Linked DNA regions of Homo sapiens: region 2 is linked to region 1. Evidence: promoter capture Hi-C in human tissues and cell types (Jung and others, 2019). All regions are on one chromosome and are shown on one strand. The core of a region is centred on a gene start or on the middle of the fragment in contact, and the rest is flanking DNA. Distances in the headings are between cores, read along the strand shown. Region 1 holds the start of ITGBL1 (integrin subunit beta like 1). Region 2 overlaps ITGBL1 (integrin subunit beta like 1).

Region 1 (6,563 bases), core at 2,602-5,101:
GGACCTACAGGAACTTTCATGGAGGTGAAAGCACAGGGGCACATAAACATAGGAAACCTGCTATATTTCCATATTCCAGTGATACAACTGGAACTATCTCTTAAAAATAAAACTGAGAAGCTAAATTTGAAGCATGGAATACATCGACGGGCTCGCAAGGCAGCCCTAGGTGCTACTTGTAGGGATCTCCGCATGGGCCCCACAAACGTGGTCAGGGCATTTGCGGGGACAGATTCTGCTCAAGGCCCTGTAGAGTAAGTTTTGATGGGCATCAGTCAGCAAGATGAGAATAAAAAATGAACTTCATTATTCCATTCAGTATTAAAATAAAGAGAAGCATTTCATCTTCTACAGAAATGCATGCATAACCAAACAAAACCATGCTTGACTCAGTCCTGCATTTCGTATCAAGAAGGAAGGAATGCAGTGACTAAGATGCTATGAGTAAACAACATATCATTTTCTATGGGAGGGAAAAAGGAATGCTGTCTACCACAGCATTCCTTCTGCATAGTTTCTCGGAGAAAAGCACCAGCCTAGGTTCTTCAACAGGGAAAGTGAATCTGACGACACTCACAACTTTCACCAGTTAAAGGCTGCATCTTACCTCTTACTTCTCTAATAAAACAAGAGAAAAAGCCCTGGAAAATTTGTTCAAAATTCATGATATTGAAGAGGGCTTGCCAGAGGCCATAGGTCAGAGAAGCCAAGTAACAGTCAAATTTGGAATGAAATATTAGGCGGTAACTTAGCTTTCATTCCAAAGGGCTACCCTTAATTATACTGCGGTTTGTAGGACTGCGAAGTTAAATAACAAGTTGTGGCATCCAATATTTTAATTTTATTTATTAATTTATTTATTGAGATGAAGTCTCGCTCTGTTGCCCAGGCTGGAGTGCAGTGGCATGATCTTGGCTCTCTGCAACCTCTGCCTCCCAGGTTCAAGCAATTCTGCCTCGGCCTCCCAAGTAGCTGGGATTACAGGCACATGCCACGACGCCCAGCTAATTTTTGTATTTTTAGTAGAGACTGGGTTTCAGCAAGTTGGCGAGGCTGGTCTTGAACTCCTGACCTCAAGTGATTCACCTGCCTCGGCCTCCCAAAGTGCTGGGATTACAGGTGTGAGCCACCCCACCCAGCATTCAGTATTTTTAAAGAGTTGATCCACAGCCTTCACAGGGAAAACAAATCAAGTAGATGCACCTGCGCCCCTCCAAATTTCTTCTATGACTATTTTTTGCATTGCCAAGCAGCCTGCATATTAAGTAACTTATACACTACTGGGCCCAGGTTCCGAGAAAAAAATATTTTGCTATAAACTCATTCTTGATCTTTCTATGTTAGTGTTGGCTGTCTTATTATTCTTAGCTACATTGAGGGTAAAATAAGTGGCTGGTTTTTCCTACAAATTTGCCAAACCCTGGCTGGAATGCATTGTGTTGTGCTTTCACTAATGGAGTTCTGTGTCACTCACAAGGCACTAATTGAGGCTCTTGGCCTTAAGTAAAACGACACAGGTAAAGAGGTTAAGGGTGTTCTCTGGGAAGGAATTTTTTGACCCTTTCCAATATCAGAACCTGAATCACTCCTTAAAAATGTGCAAGGGAAATGAATGTATTTTCACTCCACCCTCAGAAAATACCAAGTTTCATTGCAACTCAAAAATTCAAGCAGCTAGAACAATGCAAGAACAGTCATTCTAAGTAAATATGTGCCCGTTTACTTTTTTCCTTGTTACAGTTTTCTGATATGCACTCCTGCCTGTGAACTATATTCTAATAATGAGAGGGCAAATCAGGCTTCAAAGACAAAACCTGCCTCCCTAGAATGGAGGAAAATAATACATTCCCCCTCCCACTGTTTCCTATGTAAAATAAAATACAGGCCTAAGATCTACAAATATTATCATTAACATTCTTGATAGGGATAGGAGAACCCAGTAAAATAACTCCATTTGTGAGGACATTGGGGAATTTAGTCTATAATGAGGAACTTTAGAGGCAAGTGAGATTTTAGAATTAAGCAAATGACGGCCAGGTGCAGTGGCTCACGCCTGTAATCCCAACACTTTGGGAAGCTCAGGAGGGAGGATAGCTTGATTCCAGGAGTTGGGGGGGGGGGGGGGGACCAGCCAGGGCAACATAGCAAGATCCCAACTTTAAAAAATCATAATTACAATAAAATATATAATTAAGTGAATGAATTTTTAAAACTTTACTTCCATTCAAGTTCAGAGCCTGGGGGATAAAAGTGTTGTGATAAATGATGCCAGAATTAACTAGCCAAAGTGTGACAATCGCAGTAACTTAATTGGTGCTTATGTGAAGGGAGGCGTGTCCCCACCCTTCACTCTTCTAGGGAGTGGCAGAAATCCCAGAAGAGGAGTTTCGACCTCCCGAGGGAGGAGACAGCGCCGCCCTCTTACCTGCACAGGTGCTCCCGTCGTAGGTCTCGCACACCCACTCATGGCACTCACACAGGGGCCCGAAGAACATGCCCGGCTCAGTCACGTGGCAGATGCAGACGCCGCAGTCGCAGCGGCCCCGGCCGTGGCACAGCGCGGCCCCCGGGGGCTGCCCAGGTGCGCGGCAGCGTCGCTCCGACTCGGCCCGGGACAGCCTGCAGGCGGCGCCCGGCCAGCTCCTGCGCGGGCGACAAGCAACCGGCAGGCCGGGTCAGACGCGGACGCCGCCCCCTGCTCCGAACCCACGTTTCCTCCCCAGTGTCCCCTCCAGGTGCAGACGTACAACCCCAAGAACAGGACGCCTGAGGCCCACATCTCTCTGGGGTCCAAGCGCTGCCTGGAAGGGCTGTATTTTCCCAAGCAAACAGGTATCACCCACCAGAGAAATGACCAGGGCCCAAAATGTGTAATGGGTGACCTGCCCCCGGACACAGGTCCTTCCTCCAGGTGGACAGAGGTGAACTGCCCTGCTCTTTGGTAGTTTATCACTAAATCTTATATGCACATTTAGATTAAATACAAAGTAATCCAAGGTACGGCACTCAGCTGACTTTTCAGTTCTCCTTTAAAAAACGTCCCACTGCTATCTGATGGCCAATGGGCACTTATATTACAGAAGAGAAAACGTGAATCTATAGAAAGAGTTAGACATGCTATGATAGCATCGGGCATAATTTGCATTAAGCAGTCTTTAGGAACTCTACTTTTAAAAAGTTTAGTTTCACTATTGCAGTGTGCCTCACTCAGTCTCTTTCAGGATGATACAAAATGTAACACAGACCTCCTGTTGCTGCCCTTGGGAAACAGATCATTCTGCTTTACATGTTGTGAGAAGATACTGGTACACATAGCATTTTAACTCACAGCAGGAATTCCTCCTGATATGTATTTGCAGAAAAGAAAATTATATTTTTATTCAATGATTGCATTTTTCCAAAGGAAAAGCAAAAGGACAGACATGAGGCAATACACGCTGTAGATATAAGGAGAGGAAAAGGAACAGGTTGAAAACAGTTTATCCCTTGTCCAATTTAATAACAGCTCTTGGCTTAGGGCAGCCATCCTGCAAGCTTGAGCCCTGCCACATAAGCAGGGCAGGTCTGTACTGAAGAATAACAAACCAAACTTACCTCAGAGATGGCGAGAAGCTTTGAGGAACAGCTGACAACCCAGCAAAGAGAAGGGAGGACGCCAGCAGCAAGAAGTTCCTGAAGCCTGGGGGACGCATGCTGAGCTCCTGGGCTGCTCCGGGCGAGCTGCACTTCTGCAAGGTGGGGTTCACCGAGGGAGGCGGCAGGAGGGAGAGGTGCCACCAGCAGATGGCTGGGCAGACGGACCCACGGACACCCAGGCTTGCAGGTCCGGGGCTCCAGCCGGAGTTGCAATTGCGTTGATGAGCTGCCTGCGAGGATTTGGGCAGCGGCACTGCTCTGGGCGGGGTGCTGGTGCCAAACCCCTCAGTGGAGAGTCTAGGCAGGGAAGTAATTAGAAACAGTTGTACAAGCAGATGGTTTATTTTGACATTAAAAAAAAAAAAAGTGTCCTGTTCACAGATTTCAAGTACGGGCCACAGAAATATTTGACAAGAGAATATTTGGACTGGCCGATATTAAAGAAACCTTTAAAATAATCCCTGAGTTGTGGAGAAGGGTGAGGCCAGTGACAGTAGTGGGAACACTTGGGTAGGGAATTACTTTCACCACACGCTTTTAAAGTAGATGCACTCTTTGGAGTTTGGGTTGGGGCCGGGGCAAGGAAATCTGACAAACACAACTTTTTCTTGCATTTATTATCCTTTGATTTAAACTGGATATTTCATTTCTTTAGTCTTTAAAAAGCGTGTCATGCTTCCAGCTGTTTAGGCCAGTAGCTTATCACACCACAATTTGTTGGTGACTTGGACAGTTTAAATTGTAGTTGTCTCAAATTCACCCCATTCTCCCCATATATCAAATGTGAGAAAAGAAAATTAAATGTTTATTTATAGCACAAATTGCACTGAAAAACAATTGGTGTCATTTACTAAGCACCTACTATGTGCCAGTCATTTAGTATGTTTTCTCTAATTATGACAATAATCACACATTTATTTATGCATTAGCAAATGGGGATTTAGCATCTATCAGGTGCCAGGTTTTGTGCAAGACAGAATGAATATAACAGAGAACTAAGGAGACATGATCCCTGCTCTCTCAGAGTCCAATGAGCTAGAAAGACATTAATCAACACAAAACCACAAAAAAAAAGAACAAAGGGTTGCAAGTGCAGTGAGAAGTTACTTCCAGATGAGATACAGGCACTTGATCTAATCAAAGATGGTAGCATCTGAACAAAAAACTGAAAAAAGTATTGAATTAAATTGGGTAGAAATAAGAAGGAGATGGAAGAGAACAGGGAGACATTCTTACTCCCATTTTAAAGATAAAGAAACTGAGGGCAAAGAGGTCAACTGACTTGCTCAAATTCACAGAGGAAGTTAGTCGTATTTCAGCTGAAATCCAAAGTGCATACACTATCCCCTACATTTATGGTCATCTGGGAAAATGTGTAGAGGGTTATATGGAAGGGGGAAAACATTTTTCATTCACCCTAAGAAGAGCACTGTACATGCAATCCTTCCTCATGAAATAGAACCATCCAAGAATCATCTGTGGTCCCAGATCCTTAAAATCAGGGATGAGCCATAATAGGATGGGATTTCTCCCTGTCCTTTATATATAAGTAGGTATAAGGGTAAGACCACCACAACACTAGCCTGCTGGAGCAAGAAGACGATGAAGGTCCTCTAATCATAGTACATTTCTGTTTCTACCCCAATCTCCACCCTGTAATAGGGGAGGTTTTGCATGAGGCCCATCTGTGTGTCCCCCCACCCCCCAACCCCTACCCACACAATTTAACCTTTTTCAAATAGCTGATTTTCTGGCCACACTTAGATACAGGTGTGTACACACTGGTGGAGTCTTCTATTGCAAGGACAGACTGGGGACAGGTATGCACAGTTTTGGGAGGCTGTCTGGACAGGTAATTCTGGGGTCTTGGATAACCAAAGTGCGGCTTAGGAAAAAAGGACACAGGTTCTGAGTTGGCAGGTTCCCTAAGTCACATGAACTGCAGCCTGTGGGGGAAGGGCCTGTCTAAAAGAGACAGAATGGGAATTACTAAGTCAGTTGTTCTTAAAGCGTGGTCCATGGACCTGCAGCAACATCAGCATCATTTGGGAACTTATGGAAATGCAACTTCTCAGGCCCCAACCCCAGCTCTAAGGAATCACAGAGTGCATTTGAATAATATCCCAAGATATCTATTTTTACATAATAATAGCTTGAGAAGTTTGCAAAGCACAGGGCTCAGGGCTGACGCCTGAGGGTGCCTGGATCTAAGAGTGGAATTTCCACCCACCTTTAGTACAAATTCTAGAGTTACATTTTATCCTGCCCACGTGTGATAGTACAAGGACATAGGAACAGGCTTTCCTGTCAACATCTAGAAACCTAGTGACTCAGAGAATGTGGTAATGATAGAAGGGAAGTATCTATTCCAAAGCCCAACTAGGAATTTGCAATAAAAACATGGAAGCTTTAATAAATGAGTCATGTATTGTTTACTCCTTGCATATTTTCTGAGGGAAAATTTATTATGAAATAGGGACTTGATATTTGAACATTTTTAATGGATTTAAGTGATTTTTTAACCTGTAGTATTTTCATACAGTGTAGTATTCAATAAGCAATATTCTCTTTAATATATTATTCACCTTTGAAATGAAGTTAGTATGTACTAGGTAACTGAGAGAATATAAATGTTCAGATCATTACATTACTATGACTCAGAAATAATATTCCCAGTCAGTTGAAATAGTTATATTGTGGCTGACTTGGTGACTCAGTCGAAAGTCTTGGATCCACAGAAACTCTGTCAAAATCAAAGGGTAACTTTAAATTTATGCCTTTTAGCATTCTTTTTTTTTTTTTTTAACCAAAGTATTGAATGCCTTGGAAACACCTACTCCTTCCATTTTCCCAGTTTTCAGAACCTCAAGGACGCACATGTGCCAAGAAAGGTCCTGAGTTTCTCACTTCTGCTGGCTGGGGACACA
Region 2 (6,138 bases), core at 2,051-4,550, 130 kb before region 1:
TCTACAGATTCTGTAAGAATGATGAAATACTGCAGAGGTTGATGTCTGCTCCAGATTGTAATGATGTTCAGAGAAGCTTAGTTTTATTTTAAAAAAATCTGAGTACCCAGAGGACAGTTCTTCCTCAGAAAAATAAAGTAAAACTGGAGAATTGTATTTGCATCACCTGGAGATTAAGTTACATGAGTAGTCAGGCTATATGTGTTTTCAGATGACACTTTTATGGCAGTGTGAACTTTATCAAGTTACTTAATTTCTCTGAATGTATTTTCTCTTCTGCTAAACTATAGACAATAATGCCTCCCTCTCTGAGTTAGTGTGTACATAAAATGGAATGAGGTTTATAAAAGAACTCAGCAAGGGTCCAATAGAGTAGAGTCTCTGTAAATATGAGTTTCTTCCTCTTTCCTCAATTCCTCATTCTAAGTGTGGGAGCCAAGCTGTGGAAAGCTGGCCATGTTCAATTCACTTCAACCAGCGAATCATAAAATCACAATAATAGATTGATGTTTTCTTGTTCAAACTACAGCCAATTGTGCCATCACCTCTTCCTACCCCTACCTGTCCATACCCACTGTGTGGAATCTCATAGGGTATGAAAGAAAGGAAAATGTGAGAAAAAGGAAAACAGGGAAGAGGGGTTGGAGGGGAATAGGTGAGGTGGAAAATTAGATTCCAGTGCAGCCTCCTTAATGACACTTCACCTGCTCAGCCTAGAGTAAGCACTCCAAGACTAAATGACACGCTGCGGGAATTGCACACAAGCTTACACGAGGATTGAAGTGTCAGTTCAGGAGTGATCACCCATCTTTACCCCATGACCCCACTCCCTCACAGTGAGATGGACTGGCTCACAGGACCCTGAATTATCGCTATAATGTAGTTAGTTTGAATTTTTCAACCCCAGTCCAAAATCAGGATCAACATCAGAATTATGGATTTCACAAGAGAGTGAATACCCATAGGAAAAAGGGGCTCCATATCAGCAAGTCACACACTTACAATTTTAAAATACTGCCTTTTATATGCCTCCCTTATTTTCTTATTTTAAATTGTGTCAAATCATGTTTATCTCAAAAGCAATCTTAAAATGACATTGCCGCCGGGGGAGGTGGCTCACACCTGTAATCCCAGCACTTTGGGAGGCCGAGGCTGGCGGATCACAAGGTCAGGAGATTGAGACCATCCTGGCTAACACAGTGAAACCCTTCTCTACTAAAAATACAAAAAAATAAGCCGGGCGTGGTGGTGGGCACCTGTAGCCCCAGCTGCTCGGGAGGCTGAGGCAGGAGAATGGTGTGAACCTGGGAGGTGGAGCTCGCAGTGAGCTGAGATCATGCCACTGCACTCCAGCCTGGGCAACAGAGGGAGACTCCATCTCAAAAAAGAAAATGGTATTGTCAAATGGCATTTCCTGAATGCCAGCATAGTTTTAACCACCAACTCTATGCTTACAACTTGAAATTCTCTTGGTTTAACCCTGACCCTGACTCACATATTCAACAGGCTGGGAAAAAATATAAACTTTGGCTTACCCTTTGCCCTCTATGCTGGAGATGTCTAGAAACAAACTTGACAGCTTCCTTCCATATTCCCTATTTCAGTAAATGGCACCAACATTTTCCCAGACACTCAGACTAGAAATCTGGTGATGACAGCACTCTATTGCCTAAAACCATCATTAGCTCCTCATTGCCTTTAGAATAAAACCTGGGTCTGCAGGAAGGTAAAAAGCCCCCCAGTTCTTGTTTCTCAACCAACTTTACCTTTTACCACATGCTTCCTTAATTCTGCATTCTGGTAATTTCAAACTGAGTCTGGTCCTATACACAGATTCTATCCCTCTGTTCCTTCTGCTTGGAATGCCCCTCTCATCTTTCTTTACCTGCAAGCCTATTTTTTTTAGGATAAAACCCACATGCACTGTGATCCAATAGCCTCCTGCAATTCATGAGCCCTACATCACCACCACTGTGAAGAGCCACATCATCCTAATTAAAATCTCCAACAGGCCTCTTCCCCACTATTCTCATCATCTCTTTGGAACACAGAAGCCACTCACTAGTCATGAGCTCTTTTATTACCACTGTGTTGACAGCAATGATAATGAAGAACATGAGCATGTATAATTAATAATAGAAAAAAATACCCTCAAGAGAATAGTGTTCACAAAATGTTTAGGAAATCCTCTGGAGCACAAGAGATTATCAGAAGAGGGAAACCCTTCTGCAATGGGAAGATTTAGCAGCAGGCTTTCCCCAGTCAGTCTGGAGAAGCCTTTGAAGTTGCACACTCATAATTAAATGGGACAGTTCTTTTATCTCCCTTTGCTGGCAAACTTTCAGGAGACCAGAGGAGTTTCTATCCATCTGCATGCACCAATGAGGCAGTCAAGCTTAGCAAGATGTATATGTGTATGTGTCTACCTTATGGGTTATCAAATAGAACTGGACTGAAAATCTATAACTCCATTTTTGCTAAATGATACCTTTTCAGATAGACTTCTGACTGCTTTCTTTTTCTTTGCACTATTAGACATCCTGGACTTACATATTTTATTTATTTGCATTTAGATTGCAAACTCCATGAAGTCAAAGTTCATGGCTGTCTCCTGTCCCCTACTGGCTCCTACTACACCAGTAGCCCAGATGTCACTCAGTCCCTAACAGACAGTATCTGCCCCACAGTATTTACAGTCAAAGATTTTTGAATCTACTAATTGATATTTAATTACAGACTACATTGCAGAATAACATTAAAGCCTATCAAAGAGTTAATGCACAAAATAACCCTGAGCACTGTATTATCCTGTTTTGTAATACATTAATATAGGTGCCCTAATGATAACTATCCTGTTCATTGTCAACAGCTCTGCTAGTTTTGTAGTCTCAGAGTTGAACTGAGTAGCTATCTAGAGCTAATGGTTCTCCTGGGTGAGGAATTAGACTAACTTTAAAAGAGTGGGTGCCCTCTCATCTCTAGTCTTTGCCAACTTTGGGAATTCTCTGGAGGTTTTCCAAGTTACCAGTAGGAGCACTGCAAATATAAGATGCTTTAGAATACACATTCAGTTTCTTTTACAGGGTATGTGAGAATCAGAAATCTTGAAAACAGGGAAATATGCATTTTTATTTTTTATTCATTACTTTTTAAATTTTTGTGGGTACATAGTAGATGCATATGTTTATGGGGTACATGGGATGTTTTGATACGGGCATGCAATGTGAAATAAGTACATCATGGAGAATGGGGTATCCATCCCCTCCAAGCATTTATCCTTTGTGTTACAAACAATCCAATTATACTCTTTACATTATTTAAAAATGTACAATTAAGTTATTGACTATAGTCACCCTATTGTGCTATCCAACAGTATGTCTTATTTATTCTTTCTAATTGCTTTTTTTTTTTTTTTACCCATTAACAAGCCCCACCTCCCCCTCCAGAAAAACAGGAATTGGAAGAGCCCTTACCTGAACAGAAGTCATCAGAATATCGGTCATAGACAGCTCTACAGTCCCTCTCATCACATTCACAGGTGTCCCCATGAATATCTCCCCAGTCCCCAGTCGGATCAACATCGTGACAGGTACATTCACCACATACACAAGTCCCTAGGTGGGAAGAAGAATTTTATAAGAATCCAGTCAAGAAAAACCATGAAAGAAAGCATTTCACATATCGCTTATTATTTTCTGTTTACTTTGTGTTTGAAAAAAACACATATATTCAGACAAAAATATTCTAAAAAGGAAAAACACCATCTAATATTGATAATAGAGATTCCTTAATAAACAAAAGTTATTATCTATTCTATAATTATGTGAGTTGGTGGAATGTGTCATTAGTATTATGTTAGTTTCCTTCAAAGATAACACTAAAACAATTTATATAAGATATAATCCTTTCCCCCAAGAAGCTTGCAATCTATTTGGCAAATAGAAAGCTAATTAGAAAGAAAAATTAACAAACACTAAAAACAATGTGCAAATATTTTGTAAACTAAGACATGAATGCTCTAAGAATTTGGAGAAAGAGGATCAATGAGTGTTGGAGTAATTAGCAGTGGATGGATTGGATATATAGGGATTAGAGGAAATGTTCTAGGAGACATTGGAGGTAGAACTAAGAGAAAGTCAAGAAAAAAAGACTGAGCAAAGAAGGGTAGGGATGGGCATAGGGACCCTGAGGTGCATGTTAAAAAATAAAAAAGACTAAGAAGTAAGGTTTGCTAGATCAGATGAGCCCAGATTATAGAGAATGTTGGAGATCAGATTGAGAGACATAAACTTGGTCATTTGCAGATTTGCAGAGGGAAATGCCCAGCTGTACATCATGTTTACTCTGTGTGGATTATCAGTAACTGTCTTTAGGGCAACCAGCTAATCATTTGATAGAGACATAAAGTTAAATCCTTTTCTTACCTCTTACATCAAAATAAGTACCAGTTGGATTAAAGATTTAAACGTACAAAATAAAACTGTATAATATGAACTAAACTCTTTTTATTCAAGACCCCAAAGCACAATTACTAAAAAAGGAAATTGAAAATTTCCATAAAAATTGAAAATTTTGGTTGGAAACAAAACACTGTAAAAAAAAGACTGACAAAGCTGAAACAAGTAGTTAATATGTCTGTAAAAGACAAAGAACAATTTCAAAAACATATAAATAAATCATAGAATTGAATATATAAAGGATTAATATGCCCAAAGTGAAATAGACAAAAGGAAAGAACAAAAGGAAATTTCATACAGAAATAATGACAGATAAAGATGAAAAATGTTTATCACTCAATCAACCACTACTAAGTGGGTAGCAGTGGCAGATCTTCAAAATAATCGTGATTGGCAATTATTTTAGAAGTCAGATCGTCAGAGGTGGAAAATATTGTTGGATCCAGACTCGGTAAAGGTGTGGGACAATGGGTACTTTCTTGCCCTGAAGGGGAGTACGAAATGGTACAACTTTCTGGGTAGCGATTTTGCAATATGTACTTTTTATATCTGTGTTATTATTCAGACTTATAGCTCACTTTAATTAATGTACCCAACAGAAAGAAAAAGTACACACAAGTGTATGTTCAGAAATATAAAATATAGTTGTATTTATGTTTTTGAAAAATTACTAGTGACCGAAATATTGTTCAATGGGGAATTAGCGCAGTAATGGTACACACATATGGACTACCTAGCAATCACTAAGTAATAAATTAGGTTTTTGCCCCATAAATATGGAAAGATAAACAACATATATCATGAAATAAAACTGTAAAATTACAAATCAGCACGTGCAGTATGATTTGATTTTTTTTCTTTAATAAGAAGGAAATACAGGGATAGGGCAGCCATAAAAATGAATTTTAATAAATAAATACGGACTGAAAGCTCATGTACCAAAATGTAAAAGGAGGTTACACCTGGAAGTTAGGTTTATGGGTCACTTTCTTATTTTTCTGTGTACTCTACTTTATTATCTAGATTTTAAAAAATGAATATGCATTGCTCTCATAATAGGATAAATGAGTTTGGTCAGGAGGAACAGGGACTAGGAGCTATGCAGATGTGACGAAGAAGCAGCTTCTCAGCCACGTGTAAAGGGGTCCACTATGAAACTCAATAAAACAGATGGGCAATAGAGGACATTTGTTCTATTAATGCTTATGTCTGCAACATTGGTTTTTTGGCCCCTGAAGATGGGGAAAAAGGAAGACAAGATAGGTATGTGCAGGGACCAGTGTGTTTCTATTACCTATGGATGCAATGATGCAGAAATGCTTTCAGGGTAGTCAGGAGTATTATCTTTTGAGAAAAAAAAATGACTCATCTCAGCGCCCACTTCTGCCCTGTCTTCAAGTACCCCTGAATCTCAGAAGCTGTGAGCCTCGCTCAGGCAAGCTGCTTCCCATTCTGCCTCTGCCATAGCTCCAGGTCAGAATGCTCCAAGCACAGCGAAGTGGGATGCAGGTGGCTTAGCTTATGTTTCTGAAGGACATCGTCTCTCACAGCCAATGTAACTCTGCTGCAGAACCTGACCTTAATCCACAGCCCAACCAATTCCATTTTCCACCTCTCTCTTTTTGACAGCCAAATAGTCATTTTCCACAGTACCAGAGTTCAAGCTTCATATACTTAAAAA

What was found. Contacts are between HindIII fragments. The study calls those that stand out against the background at their distance.
Region 2: a contact is called between a fragment that was not itself captured here and the fragment with the promoter of ITGBL1 in region 1, in 1 of the 25 tissues and cell types used here (H1 embryonic stem cells).

The regions. Positions count from the first base shown.
Region 1 is chr13:101,449,963-101,456,525 of GRCh38, reverse strand. It overlaps ITGBL1 (integrin subunit beta like 1), which reads right to left and starts at 3,851. Exons shown (of 11, transcript NM_004791.3): 1 at 3,595-3,851; 2 at 2,426-2,643. The coding sequence starts at 3,692. RefSeq lists enhancers at 3,769-4,273, 5,607-6,563. The HindIII fragment of the contact is 7,410 bases long and covers 1-6,539 here.
Region 2 is chr13:101,580,692-101,586,829 of GRCh38, reverse strand. ITGBL1 (integrin subunit beta like 1) reads right to left here. Exons shown (of 11, transcript NM_004791.3): 6 at 3,474-3,614. Among named protein-coding and RNA genes, the nearest start is that of ITGBL1, 130 kb to the right of the region's middle. The HindIII fragment of the contact is 3,440 bases long and covers 1,581-5,020 here.